Regions from separate parts of the Homo sapiens genome. Here region 1 is linked to region 2. The links are contacts of gene promoters, found by promoter capture Hi-C in blood cells and fetal thymus (Javierre and others, 2016). All regions are on one chromosome and are shown on one strand. Each heading gives the region's core, a stretch centred on a gene start or on the middle of the fragment in contact. The rest is flanking DNA. Distances are from core to core; before and after follow the strand shown. Region 1 overlaps TFB1M (transcription factor B1, mitochondrial). Region 2 holds the start of CNKSR3 (CNKSR family member 3).

Region 1 (4,079 bases), core at 389-2,888, 800 kb before region 2:
AGTTTCCTCATCTTTTAATTGGAAGAAGGGCCTACTACTTTAAAAGATTGCCCACTCTAAAATTCTTTGGTTCTAGTAATAGCTAGTACCAGCCTTTTCTGCTTGTTATTAGCCACATTCTAAATATAAATCACCATTCTCAGGGCAGAAGTTATAGGTCTGTGTATTTTTTAAAATCCTTCAAATACATTTTCTCATGAGCCTTTATCTTCAGGAGTAAGTTTCAAATTCTAGATATTATCCACTCTTTCTATGGGAACCAGAGTTAACGGAGATGAGGGTACTTAGCTGAGGTTAGAAGCTCAGGCAGAAGAGAGCAAGATTGAAATCCAAGCTCATTGATTTGATAGCGCTTCTTTAATATTCATTTGTATTTCAATGTGCCTGAAAAGTTTGAGAGCAGAGACCTGCCTACTGTTGTAGCTCTCCATTTTAAAGAAGGAGAGTATTAAATTTATTCCATAATGTATCATTCCTGTTCCCTCTGAGAGGCATTGGCTTTAGGATTTATACCTATGTTGAAGTCCATGACCTTGTACAAATAAAACAATAGACAAGGAAACTGAAAAGTTAAGAGAAATGAAATTGGGATAGGAGTCCTTGGTTAACATGTAAGGATTAGGTGAGAATGTGTGTAAATCCATCATAATAGATAAGATGGTCAGTGGATGCTAATTCCCTCCCTGTTAAAAGACTAAACCATTTTTGGATGGCTGAGAAACTAGTTTCCGCATTTTAGCTGACAAAGTTATGTTGTTGAAAACAAGCAAAAATAGGACTGTGAACACCTACAAGAAGTGCTGGTATGTTTTTAGTGACTAAATTTCCACTATCCTAGGAAGACCAGTTCCTTGGATTTCCATATCTCAGAATCACTAAGACCAGCCCATTGCATGTTTTTCCAGATGTGATGACTGGTTGCACAGAGTCAGTACTCTACCTTTTTATGATGTCTTAAGGGCTGCTAACTTGAATTTGATTAATTAAAAAATTAATTTTTCTGTATTAACATGCATGTGTGCAAAGCTTTAAAAACCCTCAACTGCTCAATTTAACTTTTTCCTGAAAATGACTAAGAATTCAAATTTCTGAAAATCTTACGATCTAAGAACTTATTGCCATTGCCATAGTGACCACCACCAAGATGTCTCTAGATAAAAATAAGACTTCAGCACTTTTTGCTTTTGGATTTCACTAGCAATACTGAAGATTCTGAATGTGAAACTAGTATTGCTTATTCAGATATTCAATGTTCAATAACTATAGAAAAGTGCTGCATTCTTATCCAGTCTGTTCTTAGGAGTCGGTTGGTTTCAAATCAGTTTGAAAGGAATTTGCATGGGACAGATGGAAACTACAATATTAGCTAAATTTAAGCTAAGAAACTTTGTCATGATAATCCTGTGTGTGTTAAGGGACTGGTACAGTTCAATGGTGATGTGGTAGCATATTCGATTGCCACTTCATGTTAATTTAGGTAGAGAGTTAAATAGTCAAATAAATATTATACATAAAGGATCAATTGATTGGGTAATGGCTGAATTTTTATAGAAGATTTTTCTCTCTAAATTTCATACGTTGAAATTTGCCAAGTTAATTGAGATAACTAAAACTCTTTTTCCTCTAGATAAGATTGTAAGGAAAGCTGGCAATCTGACAAATGCTTATGTTTACGAAGTGGGCCCTGGGCCAGGGGGAATCACAAGATCTATTCTTAATGCCGACGTCGCTGAACTTCTGGTGGTTGAAAAGGACACTCGATTTATTCCTGGATTACAGGTGAGATGCTTAAAGTGTCTGCTTTAGGAGGCAAAAGCTGAATTTAAATCTTTATGCCATGATGCTTAAACCCCAAGGTATCCAAAGATTATGTAGGTTTTTCCTCAACTATAGATCCCCAAGGCCCCATTCCAGAGATTTTGATTCCATAGTCTGGAGAAATCTGGAAATCTCCATTTTTAACAAGCACTCTCAGAGGGTCTATTGACTACACCTTGAAAAAAACCTGCTTTAAGCATTTATGCTAAACAAATTAATTGTTTTGTGTGATTTTTTTTTTTAAGTCTGCTAATAGCTATGCATGTCGTGGCCCATTCCTTCAAAAATAAATAAAAATAAATAATGGCCAGTAATGACTCATTGGTATGACTTTTGAGAACTTCATTTAGGTTCAAAAAGCATTTCCACAAACAAAAGATGAGTAAGACATATGCACGTTTGTCATCATGAGAGACTAATTATGAAGCTTAAGCATTCTTTTATAAGGTAAATTTTTTAAGTGAAGGAAGGAAGTTGTACTTTTATAGATTTAGGATGAGGTTTAAATGAAATGATACATGCATCTTTAAAATACAGGCACTGTTATTGTATAAGAAATGAGAGTTGAAGGAACTGGGCATGTTTCAACTGGAGAAAAGAGGCCCTGGGTAAGAGTGTATATAGCAGCACATCCAAGGTTGGGGGTACATAGGATAAGCTTGTTTTGATCTTTTCTAAGAAAGAGCTAAAACAAATAGATGGAAATTGAGGGAGGCAGGATTGAGGATTTGAAATAAGGAGGAACTTACTTTTTTTAAAACGCTGGCAAACAGTGAAATAGATTGTATCAGGGATCTTGTAAAGGGATTTCCTCATAGGGGAACACTTAATGTCTTAAAGGCCTTTGATTCCTCCATAATTCTAAAATTTTAAAAGAGTCCTGAACCTTTGGCTCAGATGAGAAGCAATTTATCATGTGACTATAATAGAATAATGTAGTTATCTACGTTATTACTTCCATACAAAAGGACAAATTGATTTTAAACGAGTATATTCTCATACTAACTTGTATATATATTAATGGAAAAATGTTAATTTCTGTCAGAACGGTTTGAGAAGTTGTTTTTGAAAACCTAGAACTTTGTGTGCATGTATCTGATTTTTTTAAGAAACCTAGCAGTTTTTCCCTAATCTTGCTTTATCTAGTTTTTATGCTTTAAAAAATTACATAATATTTCCTTTTATCTAGTTTTACCAGTCTATACTAACAGAATTGGTTTCAGATACTAAACTTTATGTTGAGATAGTCACATGGCACATATTCCTTGATCAAATGTGGAATTTAATAGTGATTTTTGTTTTGAACTGTGTTCTTATTTTAAGAATTATATATAAGTTGGAGGTGGACGTGGGAATATTATTATTTTTGGTGAGATCATGAGATTATAAAAAGAAACTAAATAACTGTATAATCCCCTTCGGGCTTATTCGTGTAGCCCTTTTTGGACATAGGGAATACTCACCTGACTTTTTTGCTCTTAAAAAGACTTCTTGTCCCTCATATCTCACCATTCGTTGGGTTTATTCTTTCTTATTAGGCCAGGGGGTGAACCAGATTTCCATTCATTCCCACATATTCCCCTCTTTGATATGAACAAAAGATCTTTGAAGGCAGATTGTTGAAAAGAGCGACTGCCACCCTTCTCTTCTCAGTTTCCCCCAAACCCATAAGTCACTGCGTTCCTAATTCCAGCCTTGTTTTATCTCATTCGATTTATCATCATCTGACATACTGTATATATGTTCTTCCCATTTGTTTGTTAATTGACTCACCTGTCTGGAATGTAAGTACCATGAGGGTAGAAATGTGTGTCTGTTTTGTTCCCTGCTGTACCTCTATCTCACGTAACAGTGCCTAGCACATAGCAGGTGTTCAGTAAATGTCTCACATGAGAAACAAAAAAGTTGACCACTATTTCTGCATCTGTGTATATATATACACAAATGTATATGTATCTCTCATATTAATTAAATGTATCATTAAATAGTGAAAGTAAATATTTGTGTAGCATTGATAATGAAAAAGTTTTATGCTCTTTTTTCTAAATGTGAAGGCTGATTTCAAGTTAAATTACTCTAGAGGAAATGTATATTTGACTTCTCATTTGTTTTTAGTAGAAACAAAATTAATTCTTAGTATCTTATATGCAGGAAAGGAATTTGCCTTAAAAAGAAATGTTGGGTACTAAAATATCAAATAGGCCTTTTTTTCCCCAGTGAGGAATGTTTCAATATGTAAAACTACTTTGTTTTAGAGGTAC
Region 2 (3,549 bases), core at 868-3,367:
GTGTTGGCTCCGTGGGATGTTTTGCAAACTCTTGCTTGACTCGCAGAATTTTAGTGTTTTAGCTCTTCTGGTAAAGACTACTGCCAATGAATCTGAAGACGTGAAAACATCAAGTAAAATTCCACGGCAAAATCATTAATATTTGACCTTTCTTTTATAATTGTGGGGACCGTATGGCCCAGTTTATTCATGTTATTCCAATGTAATTCTTGATAGTTGCTTCTTTCATGCTCAAGAATATTTTGATTTGGAGGTAAGTTATGTGGTCACCCTAATCATAATCAGAAATCACACAACAGGCAGTGATTGCTGAAACAAAAGGTGTGCATCAGGTTGGTTACCCTTTCCAGTGAACCAGTGTCAAGGTCCTTCTCTCTGCTGACTGCTGTAAAGATGGTTAATGCTGGATGTCATTAAGTTTAAAGGTCTTTTTTTTTTTTTAAGGACAACTACTATATCAGGAATTTTGTCATTGCCTTTGCCAACTTGTGTGGTCTGCCAGTCACTTTCGCTAGATGAAGAAAAAGAATCACTATATTTGATAGTTGTGTGTCTCTGTGTTGCCCAGTCCTCTAGGGGAGTTGAATGGGAGGTGGGTCTGATGTTTTGCTTTTTAAAAATGTTTCTTTTGCTTGGATGCTCCAGCTCATCAGATGCTAGGCTGGCTGCTAGCTATTTTTCCACATGTGCGTCCAAACAGACCTGTGTAAGTAGCACATATCACACGAATTCAACAAATACTGAATGAATACAGTGGCTGGCACATAGGAAGCATTCCCGGATATTTACTGAATGAATAAATACCAACCTTGCCTTTGGTCCCGTGCTGGGTGCTACAAGTTAGGTGGTAGGAAGAAAGGGAGGAGAGAAAACTCTATATGAGATCAAGTAGGTTCTGCCCTCAAGGGGTTAATAGTCTCCAAGAGGAAGATGTAAATAAATAACCGTAATTGAAAGTAAGAATCATTCAGTGCCAAAAAGAGTGGGAGGAAGAGGTTGCTGGGCGGGGCGGGGCGGGGGTGGGGGGTTGGGGGGGGTGTTGGGGGGTGAGGGGAGGGGTGGTGGCGAGGGTGGCAGGGGTTGGGGGGGCGGTTAGGATGCAGGGAGAACTTGAAGGAGAGGCAGGCATTCAAATTAGATTTTCCCCCAGTTTAGCATTAACTCTGGCCCCAGTTGCAGTCCATGAATGTGGAAGGGCCCTCCCCTGCCAGGCGCTGAAATTGTGCACGAGCTATTTTTTTTTTCTTGGCTAACAGCTTTCCTCTCACGGTTAATGACTAATCCCAAGGAGCATTAGCTCACTCTGTAAATATGAAATTATAATATAGCAAAATATAACGCTAAAAGCCATCAATCTAATTTTAGTCGCAAAGTTGAAATTTCATAGCAATAGCATTAAAAGAGTTACATTGTTACGATTTCAGTCAACATATAAATGAAATAAAATTGTTCTGGCCTGGCGCGGTGGCTCAGGCCTGTAATCCTAGCACTTCGGGAGGCCGAGGCTGGCGGATCACCTGAGTTCAGGATTTCGAGACCAGTCTGGCCAACATGGTGAAACCCTGTCTCTACTAAAAATACAAAAATTAGCCGGGCGTAGTGGCAGACGCCTGTAATCCCAGCTACTCCGGAGGCTGAGGCGGGAGAATCGCTGGAACCTGGGAGGCAGAGGCTGCAGTGAGCTGAGATCGCGCCACTGCACTCCAGCCTGGGCGACAGAGCGAGGCTCCATCTAAAAAAAAAAATTGTTCTACTTTAAGAAACCTAAAATGACGGCTTAATGGCAGAGTAGTATTACGATATAAAGCATTTAAAATGAACAGAACATGCAGATCTTACTTTTTTTTTTCTTTTCTTTTTTTTTTAGTGTATTGTTGCTCACAGCGAGACAGAGTGTTCTGCTACCCACAGGGCCAGGGCCTCACACAAACCAGCGGGCTCTCCAGGGTGCGCGCGCGATCTACAACCCGCCCCTTGAAAAGGAAAGCGGGGCCCGGGACGCTGCGGGTGTGAGCCGGACCGGCTTAGAGAGGGAAAGTAACCCGAGTCCGCCGCTTCGGGCGGACCCGCCCCCTCCCACGAGTTTCCCTAGACCCTCGGCCCCGCCCTCTCTTTTATTCGGTTTGCAGCAACCGGAGCTGAAACTTTGCAACCCGAGCGCGCACGCTCTGCGCTCGGCCCTGCCAGGGCGGCACGGGAGGGCGGCGCAGGAGGTGGGACCTGCGCCGGGAAGGCTCCGGGACGCCAGCGCACGCGGAGCGGGGACCCCGGAGAGCCAGCAGGCGAGAAGACCGGCCGAGGGAGAGCCGATCGCGCCTCGAGAGATCCGAGGAAGTGGTCGCGGGCCGGGAGGCTCCCGTGCCGAGCCGAGGCCAGGGGTCTGGGGTCGCAGCCCGGCGTGCCTGCAGCTGCCGTCGCTCGGGAGCAGCAGCTGTGCCCGGGATCCCGGCGGCGGCGGGGGAAGGAGGAGCTGCAGCTGGACTGTGGCAGCTGGAGGGAGAGGGCCGGGCTCCCCTGGCGGAGCCGCGCTGGGACGACTGGCTGACCGCGGCCATGCAGTCTTGACGGAGTCGCTCGGGCGCAGGGGAGCAGCCGCGGGCGCGCCCTCCCGGGAAGGGGCACCGGAGCGCAGGCAGCAGCACTTTATCTGCGACTCTCCAGCCCAGCGAGAGGCGAAGCGGTTTACCATGGAACCCGTGACCAAGTGGAGCCCCAAACAAGTGGTGGACTGGACTAGAGGTGCGCGGGCCTTGGGGGGGTCCGGAGTCCTCCAGCCTCGGGGATGGGGCGGACGAGGAGCTGGGGAAGAGGGTACTTGGCCCTTCCTCCCGGCGAGAAGCGGTGAGGGCACAGCCCGGTGACAATGCAAACTTCTGCCGAGTGGCCTGTGCGCTCCTATCTCTCGTACCTGCTCCGAGCTCTTCCTTTCCAGGGTGCGGATTGTGGCAAGCCGAGGGGAGCCCTATCTTTAAACCAGGGAGTAGGGGTGGCCTTTCTGTGGCGGTTGAGGGCTGGGGATGCCGATCTCGGGACTCGGCACTCGGGCCGGGGGGCGCTCTCCCTGCCTGGCCCCGGTGCGGTGCCCGGCGACCCGGGGGCCCGAGTGCAGAGGCACAAGGTGCCTTTGTGTGGGTGACTCCCGCGGGACCTCGTCCATGCCGCCTGCCCAGAGCCGTCCGCAGGCGTGACAGGGCTGTCGGACAGGTAGAGGGAGACTCCGGCGGGTCCGCCGAGCCTGTCTGTTTTTGTTGGAGAAGGCGAGAGGGCCGCGCAAAAGCCAACACCATAGCATTTGCGCCAGGGAGAAACCTCGAGCCAGGACTCCCCGGGAGGCAGTGACTTTTGCTCCGGGAGGCGCCAGTATCCCCGGTGGCGCTGCATTTTCAGGCCACATGTAAGCACTGGGAAGGAGAAATATAATTGTTTGGAACCACTGTCTTGATTCATACAATATTTGGGATGAGGAAGGCAGTGGGGCTGGGGCGGTGGGGGGGTGGTGGGGGGAATGAGCAGAGGTAGAAGCTTGTCCTCCTAGCTGGCTCGCTTACT

What was found. The method cuts DNA at HindIII sites, captures the fragments that hold promoters and counts their contacts. A CHiCAGO score of 5 or more calls a contact.
Region 1: a fragment that was not itself captured here is called in contact with the fragment with the promoter of CNKSR3 in region 2 in 1 of 17 cell types (erythroblasts); the score reaches 6.4 in erythroblasts.

The regions. Positions count from the first base shown.
Region 1 is chr6:155,308,888-155,312,966 of GRCh38, reverse strand. It overlaps TFB1M (transcription factor B1, mitochondrial), which reads left to right. Exons shown (of 7, transcript NM_016020.4): 2 at 1,628-1,779. Among named protein-coding and RNA genes, the nearest start is that of TFB1M, 3.6 kb to the left of the region's middle. The HindIII fragment of the contact is 1,219 bases long and covers 1,029-2,247 here.
Region 2 is chr6:154,509,253-154,512,801 of GRCh38, reverse strand. It overlaps CNKSR3 (CNKSR family member 3), which reads left to right and starts at 2,117. Exons shown (of 13, transcript NM_173515.4): 1 at 2,117-2,739. The coding sequence starts at 2,688. LOC101928868 (a long non-coding RNA gene) reads right to left here and starts at 2,011. Exons shown (of 2, transcript XR_001744422.2): 1 at 1,840-2,011. The HindIII fragment of the contact is 4,325 bases long and covers 1-3,524 here.